Linked DNA regions of Homo sapiens: region 2 is linked to region 1. The links are contacts of gene promoters, found by promoter capture Hi-C in blood cells and fetal thymus (Javierre and others, 2016). All regions are on one chromosome and are shown on one strand. Each heading gives the region's core, a stretch centred on a gene start or on the middle of the fragment in contact. The rest is flanking DNA. Distances are from core to core; before and after follow the strand shown.

Region 1 (6,321 bases), core at 1,722-4,221:
GCTGATTGGCCCATTTTACAGAGAGCCAACTGGTCTGTTTTATAGAGAGCTGATTGGTCCATTTTGACAGGGTGCTGATTGGTGTGTTTACAAACCTTGAGCTAGACACAGAGTGCTGATTGGTGTATTTACAATCCCTTAGCTAGACATAAAGGTTCTCCAAGTGCCCACTAGACTCAAGAGCCCAGCTGGCTTCACCTAGTGGACCTAGCACCTGGGCTGCAGGTGGAGCTGCCCACCAATCCTGTGCCTGCACTCCTCAGCCCTTGGGCGGTTGATGGGACCAGGCCCCGCAGAGCAGGGGGCGGTGCAGGAGCCCAGGCAGGGGGACGCTTGGGCATGGCGGGCTGCAGGTCCCAAGCCCTGCCCCGTGGGGAGGCAGCTGAGGCCTGCGAGAATTCAAGTGCACCTGTGGGCTGGCACTGCTGGGGGACCTGGCGCACCCTCTGCAGCTGCTGGTCTGGGTGCTAAGCCCCTCACTGCCTGGGGCCAATGGCGCCAGCCGGCCTCTCTGAGTGCGGGGCCCACCGAGCCCACGCCCACCCGGAACTCATGCTGGCCCTCGAGCGTGGCCCGCAGCCCCAGTTCCCGTCCGCGCCTCTCCCTCCACACCTCTGGCAAGCAGAGGGAGCGGGCTCCCGCCTCGGCCAGCCCAGAGAGGGGCTCCCACAGTGCAGCGGCGGGCTGAAGGGCTCCTCAAGCGCAGGGAGAGTTGGCGTGGAGGCCGAGGAGGCGCCCAGAGTGAGTGAGGGCTGCCAGCACGCTGTCACCTCTCATCCTGACCTTGTGATCTGCCTGTCTGGTCCTCCCAAAGTGCTGGGATCTGGGAGTGCAGATTGGTCAGAGATGAAATCATCAGGAGTCAGAGCTGTCTTCTTGCAGAGTCAGTTCTGGGTGGGGGCCACAAGATCAGATGAGCCAGTTTATTGATCTGGGTGGTGCCAGCTGATCCATCAAGTGCAGGGTCTGCAAAATATCTCAAGCACTGATGTTAGGAGCAGTTTAGGGAGGGTCAGAATCTTGTAGCCTCCAGCTGCATGACTCCTAAACCATAATTTCTAATCCTATGGCTAGTGTTAGTCTAGTCCCCAGGCAAGAAGGTCTGCTTTGGGAAAGGGCTGTTACTGTCTTTGTTTAAACTATAAACTACAAACTAAGTTTCTCCCAAAGTTAGTTCAGCCTACGCCCAGGAATAAACAAAGACAGCTTGGAGGTTAGAAGCAAGGTGGAGTCAGTTAAGTTAGATCTCTTTCTTTGCAAAGGCGGTTTCCCCCGGACTCTCCATCTCCAGCTCCTCCCAGCAGGGCTCAAAACCACCAGGATGGGGCAGTCTGACGGAGACTGTCTTTTCATTCATTTATTTATTTAATTTATTTATTTTGAGACAGAGTCTCGCTCTGTTGCCCAGGCTGGAGTGGAATGGCACGATCTCGGCTCACTGCACCGGGTTCAAGCGATTCTCCTGCCTCAGCCTCCTGAGTAGTTGGGGTCATAGGCGTGCGGCACCACGCCCGGCTAATTTTTGTATTTTTAGTAGAGACGGGGTTTTGCCATGTTGGCCAGGCTGCTCCCAAACTCCTGACCTCAGGTGATCCACCCGCCTCGGTCTCCCAAAGTGCTGGGATTACAGGCATGAGCCACCTCGCCCAGCCCAGGGATTTCTATCTATTCTTCCACCACCCTGGCCACTACATGCTCACCCACACATACATTGGTCATGCGACTTTGGTCATGAAATCTCTTTTCTTTAAGCCTTACTTTTGTCATCTGTGGATGAGTCAAACTAGAGAATCTCAGAAAGTCACCTGGACTCCAGAGCCTGATGACATCTTGTCACACTCTGCTCCAGGCTCCTCCCACCCTCAGCAGCAGGAAAGAGGGACAGACATGAGGATGGTCAGGGTTTTGGAAACAGGCCCACGCCTGTTTTTATACCCTGGACTCCTCTCAGAGGCTTGACATTTTTGTTACCCAAGCCTCACCTCACTGATATTTTCCAACCAAAATGGGGGCTAAATGGTCTGAAGAGAGAGAGACTTATGTTAATTAAAAGTATGAGGCAGGGGCCAGTGTGGTAGCTCACACCTGTAATCCCAGCACTTTGGGAGGCTGAGGCAGGAGGATCTCTTGAGGCCAGGAGCTTGAGACCAGCCTGGGCAACATAGCAAGAGCCCATCTCTACCAGAAAAAAAAAAAAAAGGTGTGAAGCAAGCTGGCCAAGCAGGGGGTGCCTGTGGGGGCTGCATGGCAGGAGCAGATCTGGGGAGGCACCGTGGATAAGACAAGGCAGGATGGGGTGGGGCATCCTCCCAGGAGGAACGGGGGAGGCACCATGGTTCTCTGGGAATGTACGGGCTAAAGTCCCAGTGTCCTATTTCTTTTTCTTTTCTTTTCTTTTCTTTTTTTTTAAGACGGAGTCTCACTCTGTTGCCCAGGCTGGAGTGTGGTGGCACGATCTCAGCTCACTGCAACCTCCGAGTCCCGGGTTCAAGCGATTCTCCCTGCCTCAGCCGCCTGAGCAGCTGAGATTACAAGTGCCCGTCACCATGCCCAGCTAATTTTTGTATTTTTCAGTAGAGATGGGGTTTCGCCATGTTGGCAGGCTGGTCTCGAACTCCTGACCTCAGGTGACTTGCCCACCTTGACCTCCCAAAATGCTGGGATTACAGGGGTGAGCCACTGTGCCTGGCCCCGGCGTCCTCTTTCTCAGCTTTTCGGTGAATGTTCTGGGGCTCAGGGCCTGGCTATGGGGTGACACTAAGTTCAACAGAACCATTGCCCATTCCAGCCCCACCTTACCCCAGGAAAAGCCTCCTCACCGCAGTGACCACATCCCCTTGGGTTGCTTTGGAAACAAACACTCCCCAGGGGCAGACGAGTTGGGGCACAGTTGCCCAGCAACAGGCGGTGCCCTCCCTTCCGCCTTCATCCGAGGCCGGGCCTCTACGTCTGAGAGGCGGACCGCCCTGCACCCTCCAAGCCTGCACCTCTTAGTCCAGCACCAGGAAGAGTGGCTCTAGGAGGGAGAGGAGCCCAGGGACTGACCCAAGGTGAGTTGAGGGGTGCAGGAGGCCCCCTGCAGATGGAGGATGTGGGGGACAGAGAGGTGTGCAGAGACAAACGAGAGATAGAGACAGGCCAGAGCCTGGGCAAAGCTGGGGAGCCCAGGAGGGGTGCAGAGGCGCCTCCGGAGGCCTGGCCCGGCCCGGCCCGGCAGCAGATTCCGTGGAGCCTATGAGAGCAAGATCAAGTCCGAGGAGAATGGTGAGGGGCGAAGGAGCCTCAAGGGGCCAGCGGAGGTGCTGGCGGCAGGCGGTGGGGGAGACACACGCAGGGGAGCCAGTGGGAGGGGAGGTTCTCATTTCTTCACCCACCACTTCCTCTCTAGGTCTGAGCAAGACTTGAGGGGGCCGAGTGGGGAGGAAAGAAGCCCTTGAGACCTTTCTTGTCTGAGGCACCCTGGGGTCTGGGAGGGAAATGGGGATTCTGGAAAGGCCTGGAGAGCCAGGCAGGAGGGCCTGGCTGTGCCCCGAGGTAGGCTGCCTGTCCTCCCACCCCACCTGGCTCACGCTTACCCTTTCTGGTCCCTCTTGCTTCTCTGTCTCTCCAGAATGTTCTTTTTCATTTTTGAGAAAGGGTCTTGCTCTATTGCCCAGGCTGGAGGACAGTGGTGCAATCTGGGGTCACTGCAGCTTCAAACTCCTGGGCTCAAGTAATCCTCCCACCTCAGCTTCCTGTGTAGCTGGGACTACAGGTGTGAGCCACCACACCCAGCTAGTTTTTAAATTATTTTTAGAGATGAGGTTTCACTGTGTGTCCAGGCTGGTCTTGAACTCCTGGGCTCAAGTGATCCTCCCGCCTCGACCTCTCAAAGTGCTGGGATTCCAGGCATGAGCCCCCATGCCCAGCCCTTCTCCCAGGCTTTCCTGGACACCTGCTGCCTCTCTCTCATCTTGGTTGTGCCCCCTCTGCCTCATTTACTTCCTCTTCTCACCCCTGTGTCTCTCAGATGCCGTTGACTCCAGAGCCGCCCTCTGGGCGCGTGGAGGGGCCCCCCGCATGGGAAGCAGCCCCATGGCCCTCACTGCCCTGTGGGCCCTGCATCCCCATCATGCTGGTCCTGGCCACCCTGGCTGCGCTCTTCATCCTCACCACCGCTGTGTTGGCTGAACGCCTGTTCCGCCGTGCTCTCCGCCCAGACCCCAGCCACCGTGCACCCACCCTGGTGTGGCGCCCAGGAGGAGAGCTGTGGATTGAGCCCATGGGCACCGCCCGAGAGCGCTCTGAGGACTGGTATGGCTCTGCGGTCCCCCTGCTGACAGATCGGGCCCCTGAGCCTCCCACCCAGGTGGGCACTTTGGAGGCCCGAGCAACAGCCCCACCTGCCCCCTCAGCCCCAAATTCTGCTCCCAGCAACTTGGGCCCCCAGACCGTACTGGAGGTCCCAGCCCGGAGCACCTTCTGGGGGCCCCAGCCCTGGGAGGGGAGGCCCCCCGCCACAGGCCTGGTGAGCTGGGCTGAACCCGAGCAGAGGCCAGAGGCCAGCGTCCAGTTTGGGAGCCCCCAGGCCAGGAGGCAGCGGCCAGGGAGCCCGGATCCTGAGTGGGGCCTCCAGCCACGGGTCACCTTGGAGCAGATCTCAGCTTTCTGGAAGCGTGAAGGCCGGACCAGTGTGGGGTTCTGAATCCCCAGGGTTCCCCAGAGATCCCCGAGGCAGGCCTTGCCTCAGTGGGACCGGGGACCCCAGGATCCAGCATTAGGATTGAGACTGCCCCAGCGAAGATGCCCTTCCCAGGCTCCTTCCACCTGGAGTCCCCCTCCCCGGGTCTGGGTGGTGGCCAGGCTATGTGGACTAGGGGAAGCCCAGCAGTGCCTCTGCTCAGCTACCTGGGCTGTGGCTCAGAGACCTGGGGGTGGAGCCAATGCCAGGCCAGAAGCCTTCAAGATCGCATCCAGATGAAGAACCCAAGGTACTAGATAGTCAGGAAATGGCATCGACCAGCCACCTCCACCTTCTTTCAGTGTTTACCGAAGCCACCAATACCAAAGAGAACGGGTCCTGCGGTGCTGAACAGCCTCGGTGTGGCGATGACAGCTGGCAGGAGATGACAGGAATCCAGTTTCCCAGAGCCACAAATCCTGTTCTCCTTGGCCACTCACCCACTGTGAGGTCCTCTAGGAAAATACACAAAGAGAGGACCAGACCAGGCAGAGGAACATTTTGTTTCATATGAACTGTGGCTTTGACCCCCAAACTGCAAGGAGGAACTTGCTGGGCCAAGCTGCAGCGGCGCTGTCTTGCTGGAGTGGGGACCTAGAGTCAGAGAAAACCCACAGGCTCCTCTGCCCATTCTCCTCCATCTGCACACGTCTCAGCCTCGGACCCTCACCACTCCATGGTGAGGAAGGCCATGGCCAGGGGAAACTGAGTTTCATCCAATGTGGAGAGGAGCGTTGTCCTAGAGCAGGGCAACTCCCAAACTGTGACCTCTGATCATCGTCCCTTCCAGCTTGCTGGAGTGTCCAGAGAGACAGATTTGCCACAAGCTAGGCTTACTTATAATGCTCCACCCTACAGAAATGGGACCCCAAGTACCCAATCTTCCCTTTAGGAGAGGCAGGCAGGTGGGTGAGCAGCAGATGTAGTTTCCATTTCCCTGGGGGTTTAATTTTCCAAACTTTGTCTTTTTTTTTTTTTTTTTTTTTTTTTTGAGACAGAATCTCAACTCTGTCACCCAGACTGGAGTGCAGTGGCACAATCTCAACTCACTACAGCCTCGAACTCCTAGGCTCAAGCGATCCTCCCACCTCAACCTCTAGAATAGCTGGGACTGCAGGTGCATACCACCACGCCCAGCTAATTTTTGTATTTTTTTTGTAGAGACACGGTCTCACCATACTGCCTGGGCAGGTTTCCAACTCCTGGGCTCAAGTGATCCAGCAGCCTTAGCCTCCCAAAATGCTGGGATTACAGGTATGAGCACTGCACCCGGCCACTTTTTTTTGTTTTTGAAACAGGGTCTCACTCTGTTGCCCAGGCTGGACTACAGTGGCACAATCTCAGCTCACTGCGGCCTTGAACTCCTGGGCTTAAGTGATCCTCCCACCTCAGTCTCCCTAGTAGGTGGAACTACAGGCATGTACCACCACACCTGGCTATTTTTTTTTTTTAGAGACAGGGTCTTGCTATGTTGCCCAGGCTGGTCTTTAATTCCTGGGCTCGAGAGAGCCACTCATCCCCATCTCTCAGAGTGTTGGGATTACAGCCATGAGCCACCATGCCCGGCCAAACTTCAGCCTTGAATATTAGTGATTTTGCCA
Region 2 (6,321 bases), core at 1,796-4,295, 160 kb before region 1:
AAAACAAACTGTGGTATTACCATAATTATCCCTATTTTATACAAAGCAACAGAGGCATAAGGAGGTTAAGTCCTTTGCCCAAGTGCAAGAGGTAGGACAGGAACCCAGAGTCCTGTGCTGGTAACCGCTTTTCTGTGTACGTAATATTATCTCATTTAATCCTTGCAGTTACTTGATGAAGAAGGTGGTGGTCCTAGGGCATTGGAGAAGTTATGCGGCTTGTTCAAGGTCATGCAGCTGGAAGATGGTGGTGGTAGGACAGGAAGTCCGTTGGGCCTGATTCTGCTGCCTTCTAGTCAACGCTCCTTTGCTCCTGAGTCCCTCATCCCCCCTGCAGAATGGGCACCCCGTTACCATTGTGAGCCACTGTGTGTAGAAAAGAGTCGTCCACCAGTAGACAGTGCCCCTCAGCCCAGCACTGGGGCTCACCGCCGACCACCAGCTCACAGCCAGGAGGGATCTTTAGGCCTGTAAGAAGAGACGCGGGCATCCAGCACTCCTGCCTCCATCCCAGGGGCCCATCCTGGCCAGTCAATTAGCAACTAGCTCTAAGTGTCTTAAATGCCAGGTTTTGTGGTCATCCTCCTTTCTTTCCAGAAAGTGGCCACAGTATAATTACAATACAGTCCTGGAGGAGGGAAGTGCTAGGAGATTAGGGAAACGCTGCTGTGGGTAGTGTGACCCATCTTTTTTTTTTTTTTTTTTTTGAGACAAAGTCTCACTCTCTCACCCAGGCTGGAGTGGAGTGGTGTGATCTCAGCTCACTCTGCTTCCCAGGTTCAAGTGATTCTCGTGTCTCAGCCTCCTGAGTAGCTGCTGGGATTACAGGCATGTGCTACAATGCAGGGTTAATTTTTTGTTTTGTTTTTTTTTTTGAGATGTAGTCTTGCTCTGTCGCCAGGTTGGAGTGCAGTGGCATGATCTTGGCTCACTGCAACCTCCGCCTCCCAGGTTCAAGCAATTCTCCTGCCTCAGCCTCCCGAGTAGCTAGGATTACAGCTGCCTGCCACCACGCCTGGCTAATTTTTGTATTTTTAGTAGAGATGGGGTTTCGCCATGTTGGCCAGGCTGGTCTCGAACCCCTGAGCTCAAGTGATCTGCCTACCTCAGCCTCCCAAAATGCTGGGATTACAGGTGTGAGCCACTGCACCTGGCCAGACCCGTTATTTTATTTTATTTTATTTTATTTTATTCTTATACAGACAGTGCTGGTCTTGAACTCCTGGCCTCAAGCAATCCTCCTGCTTTGGCCTCCCAAAGTGCTGGTATTTCAGGGATGAGCCACGGCACCTGGCAGCAACCTCTCATTTCGAGAAAAGAGAAGGCTTCCTGGAGGAAATGGCTTTTCCTCCTGGGCTTTCGACAGTTTGACTCAAGAGCTTACTGTGTGATAGGCGCTGTCTCACTGAGAGGTATAAGATTAAAGACGTTCCTGGCCCAAGGACCACATGGCTGAGTGCTGTGAGGAAAGTGAGCAGCCAACTCAACTGATGGGGGAACAGGAAGCCAACCCAGAGGAAGTGTGGCACTTGAAAACTTGAGTACTGAAGGCTGAGTAGGAGTTTTTCAGGAGGTGGTACGGGGGAAGGGGATTCTAGGTTGAAAAGAACAGCACATGTGGCATCTGTCAGGATTGGCCAGAAGGTTTTCATGATTTAGAGCACAGAGAGAGGGAAGAGAGGAAGGATTGGGAACTGATCCTGAGGCTAGTGTGCCCTGAAGTGTAGGACACATCCAGCTGGCAGCACAGGAGATGATTGGGGGCAAAACAAGGTCATGGCATGGAATAACAGAAAATTATTTCCTTTTCCATTTTCTTCCAGTCTTTAAGACATCAAAAAGTGCCAGGTGCGGTGGCTCACGCCTGTAATCTCAGCACTTTGGGAGGCCAAGGCAGGAGGATCACTTGAGTTCAGGAGTTCAGGTCCAGCCTGTCTTTACACAATTTTTTTTTCTTGTTTTTGAGATGAAGTTTCGCTCTTGTTGCCCAGGCTGGAGTGCAATGTTGTGATCTCGGCTCACTGCAACCTCCGCCTCCCGAGTTCAAGTGATTCTCCTGCCTCGGCCTCCCGAGTAGCTGGGATTACAGGCATGCGACACCACACCCAGCTAATTTTCTGTAATTTTAGTAGAGACAGGATTTCTCCATGTTGGTCAGCTGGTCTCGAACTCCCAGCCTCAGGTGATCCGCCTGCCTCAGCCTCCCAAAGTGCTGGGATTACAGGCGTGAGCCACCGCGCCTGGCCTACGTAAATTTTTAAAAAATCAGCCAAGCATGGTGGTGGGCACCTGTGGTCCCAGCTACTCAGGAGGCTGAGGTGAGAGGATCCTTTGATCTCAGGAGGTTAAGGCTGTAGTGAGCCATGTTTGTGCCACTGCACTCCAGCCTGGGTGACAGAGTGAGACCCTGTCTCAAAAAAAAAAAAAAAAGAAAAAGAAAAAATCTCAGTTTGGTGCTACTGTAACTTTGACACCCCACCAACCCTTTTAAAAAAGAAGGTGTAGGGCTAGGCACGGTGGCTCATGCCTGTAATCCCAGCACTTTGGGAGGCCGAGGCGGATTGATCACGAGGTCAGGAGATGGAGACCATCCTGGCTAACATGGTGAAACCCTGTCTTCACTAAAAATACAAAATAAAAAAAAATTAGCCAGGTGTAGTGGCAGGTGCCTGTAGTCCCAGATACTCGGGAGGCTGAGGCAGGAGAATGGTATGAACCCGGGAGGTGGAGCTTGCAGTGAGCCAAGATCGTGCCACTGCACTCTCGCCTGGGCGACAGAGCGAGACTCCTCAAAAAAGAAAAAAGTGTAGGCTTCAGGATCAGAGAGACTAGAGCACTTAACTAGAATGTTCTAGACTGTTGAAAGCTTTCTTTTTTAAATTTCAGCTTGTGTTTATGAGTACTTTCTTGTCACCCAGGCTGGAGTGCAGTAGCACAATCTCAGCTCACTGCAGCCTCAAACTGCTGAGCTCCAGTGAACCTCCCACCTCACCCTCTCCAGTAGCTGGGACCATAGGCATGGGCCACCGCGCCCGGCTAATTGTTTTATTATTTGTAGAGACAAGGTCTCACTGTGTTGTCCAGGCTTTTTATGAGTACTATTTAGGGCAAGTAATACTGATAGTGCTATAAATATTTCTTTTAAATACGTAGAACAAAAGGTCGGGGGGAGAGCCAAGGTGAAGAAACGCAGTACAGATGGGAATGACCACGGCAAAGCTTATGAAGGTGGTGTGCAGATAACCGAGGCTGAGGAAATGCTGCTGTGGGTGGCAACAGGGAGCCATGGAAGAAGAGAGGCACAATGAGAACCAGACAGCAGACGGCTCTGGCGGAGAGAAGGGTCTGGGGGGGAAATCATCGAGGCAAGGAGGTTGTCAGTAGGCGGCAGCTACTTACCCAGATGGCATCTGACCCGGGCATTGGTGGGCCCACAGCGGCCCTCGAGCCGGGCCCCAGGCAGGAGAACGGAAAAGCCGGCATTGCCGAAGGTGTTGGCACTCATAAAGCTTCGAAGCCCCCTCAGTGCCCGATAGGCCCCCGGGCACCGGCGGCAGTTGCTGGGTTGGCACCGGCCTGCTTGGTACAGCAGGAGCTGGTAGCACCCGGGGGCCAGAGGTGGGGACCAGCCCCGAGGCGGAGGGGTAGTCCCTGAGAAGTCCCAGCTCACAGCCCCGAAGTCCCGCAAAATGGCAGGGAAGCTGCTCTCCAGGAGCTCCACGTCGTGCCGCTGGGCGTCCCGCGGCACAAAGGGGGCTGAAGGCAGGTCTGGTAGGAAAAGCAGGCCTGGGCGCTGAATACCTAGGACCCCTGGCCCTCTCCCAGGGCCTGGGCCACCCTGAGCTGCCCGCCTCACTCTACCCATCCCAGCCCAGGAGTAGCGCCTTGCGTAGGCCCGAAGCCGCCGGCTCACTAGGCCTTCCGTCCTAGGTCCTTCCCCGGGATCCCCAGGACCCCCTGGGCTTGGCCCGCCGGCCTCCGAGCATCCCACAGGCCCACCACGAACACCCCCAGCTCGGCTCCCAGCCCCTAGGGCCTGCATGTCTTGGGAGCCCAGGCGGTAGCAGTACCAGAGGAACAGGGAAGTGAGGGCCCCGAAGAGCAAGGTGAGGGCCGAGGAGGCCAGGGGTAGTGGCCACGGGAGCATGATCAGGGAGGCCCTGGCCAAGAGGCCTGGGGCGTCCTCCGGACCCCAGTTCCCCTGTCCCCCCAGCTCCCCACCTGTCCCTTCCATGGCTGCCCCCTGGCTCCCCGCTGGACTGTTTCCCTTCCACATTCCACTCTGGGCTGTCTCTCTCTCCTTCCGCGGTCCTCTCTCCACGCTGAAGCTCCCTCTCCCCTCCTTCATGCACCTCCAACCCTCCTCTCTCCTTTCTCTCCCCTTTCTCTCTCCTTCTACCTCTTCTTCCTCCTCTCCCTCTGTCGCCTCCTCACCCTCTTCTTTCTCCTTCCAGCAGCCTCCTCTCTCTCGCTCTGCTTCTCTCTCCCACCTCAATCTCCCCCTTTCCTCCCCACCCCCGCTTTTCGCTCGCTCTCTCTCCCCGCTTCCTCCTAGCTCCCCTGGGCAGCGGTTCCTACCCTGCCTGGACCTGCAGTCCCGGGAACCCGCAGCCTGTCTTCCTCCGCGGCAGCTTCTTTCTCTCCGGCCTCACTGCTCTCTCCTTGCCCTCGCTCCTCACTAGCCCCGACCCTGCGGTCCTGCCTGGCTCTCGCTCCCTCTCTCCTACTCGCTCCTTCCTGGGCTCCCACTCACCCTGACGTCACTCCTTCCCGGAGCCCTCTCAGCTCAGCCACCCCCGAACCCTCCCAGTGGCACAGCAAATCAGCCGGGTGCCGGGGGAGGGGGGAGAGTTGTCGCTGGAGGTGCCTCCCCACCCCCCCCGCCCGGAAAGGGCGCCACGTGGGGCGCAGGGGCCACGGTGCCAGCCTCCAGCCGTCCCGCAATGCGAAAGAAGGGGCGGGTCGTATCGGGCGGGGCCTGAGGGGCGGGGCCTGAGGGGCGGGGCGAGCGCGGACTGACGGCTGGGCAGGCGCCCGGGACTGCGGGCAAGGATGCTGAGGCCAGTCCGTCGGGCGGCTGGTCCGTCGGTCGGTCGGCCTGTGACTCCCGCTGGCCCTAGGCAGCCCGGGAGCCCGCGAGCCTGGCAAACACCGAAAGCGGCCTCAGCCAATCGCGGGCGGCGTCGGGCCGGGCCCGCCCCGGCGGGGCGAGGGGAGCTGTCCGCGCGCCGCTGGTGCTGAAAAGGGCGCTCCGGAGGGAAAATCAGAGCCGAGGCCGCCTGTTAGCTGGCCGGGGTCAGGGTTTATGGAAGAGGAGGGGTCTGTCTCTCCTCCCCAAACCCCGGCCCGTCACCCACGAGACTTGTCACAATCGTGGAAGCTCTCTATTCCCCTGGAGGAGGGAGAGCCCATTCCACCCGAGCTACTGTAAAAGGGGAAGGGAAGCCCCTTGGGAGGTCTGAATGTGAACAGGGGGCATAATTGGGGGCCTAGCAGGCGCGAACCAAGCTATGCAGCCCCTCGGCACCCTGGGAAGAGGAGATTCAGATTCCAGATGTGCTGGAATGGCAGGCGGAGGGGGCTAATTACTGCTGGGACCAGAGAGTTTCCTTTGCCTCCCCTAGGGGCCGCGGGAGTGAGGATTACGGCCCTGGCTCGTATGATCCCTCCCTCCTCCATCTGCACTTCCTCCTCCTCCCTCCCCGTCAAATAAATCCCAGGCCCCTCCCTCCGCCCGTCCCCAGGATCTGACGTGGGCTCGATACCTTTCTCAGCTTCTCCCTCCCGCAGCTCCAGTGCCCGAGCTTCGGCTCTCCCAGTTCCCCAACCCACCCCTTCCCCTCCCCGACAAGCCCCGCTAGAGCCCAGTGGAGACCCCCTCGATCCTCGACCCCACCCTAAACCCCCAGAAGCTGTCTTTCTCCTCCCCAGTCCCCTAGCTTGGGGTCCAGACAGCCCAGTGGACCCAGGCGCCTGAGCAGGAGGGTAACCCAGGCCACCCGGCCCCTTCGGCCCTCTCGGCCCCACCCCCTGCAGCCGGAGCCGCGCCCCCTCCACCACAGAGCCGCGAGAAGAGGACAGAGGAGACTGAGCAAAGGGGGGTGGGCTCCAGGCGACCCCTAGCCCAATTCTGCCCCTCCATCCCAAGGGGCAGAGAAATTGTCTTTCTTTGCTGACTCCTACGAGGAAAAAAAAAAAAAAAAAAAAAACAATTAAAGGGAAAGATAAACGGAGACGGAGGAAAGGTGGCAGCCAGATTACTTAGAGAGGCACAGAGGAGAGAGATCGGGGTGAGTCGCCATGGGGACTCCCAGGGCCCAG

Evidence for each region. Contacts are between HindIII fragments. The CHiCAGO score rates a contact against its expected background, and 5 or more counts as called.
Region 2: a fragment that was not itself captured here is called in contact with the fragment with the promoter of C16orf54 in region 1 in 1 of 17 cell types (erythroblasts); the score reaches 7.3 in erythroblasts.

The regions. Positions count from the first base shown.
Region 1 is chr16:29,742,640-29,748,960 of GRCh38, reverse strand. It overlaps C16orf54 (chromosome 16 open reading frame 54), which reads left to right and starts at 2,971. Exons shown (of 2, transcript NM_175900.4): 1 at 2,971-3,050; 2 at 4,010-6,321. The coding sequence starts at 4,010. The coding sequence ends at 4,684. It overlaps LOC124903673 (a long non-coding RNA gene), which reads right to left and starts at 3,714. Exons shown (of 2, transcript XR_007065046.1): 1 at 3,576-3,714; 2 at 1-985. RefSeq lists enhancers at 2,035-2,104, 2,632-2,681. The HindIII fragment of the contact is 10,190 bases long and covers 1-6,321 here.
Region 2 is chr16:29,898,999-29,905,319 of GRCh38, reverse strand. It overlaps ASPHD1 (aspartate beta-hydroxylase domain containing 1), which reads right to left and starts at 4,832. Exons shown (of 3, transcript NM_181718.4): 1 at 3,400-4,832; 2 at 355-468. The coding sequence starts at 4,348. SEZ6L2 (seizure related 6 homolog like 2) reads left to right here and starts at 5,770. Exons shown (of 18, transcript NM_001243332.2): 1 at 5,770-6,321. The coding sequence starts at 6,301. RefSeq lists enhancers at 3,107-3,811, 5,578-5,872 and a silencer at 4,785-5,214. The HindIII fragment of the contact is 353 bases long and covers 2,869-3,221 here.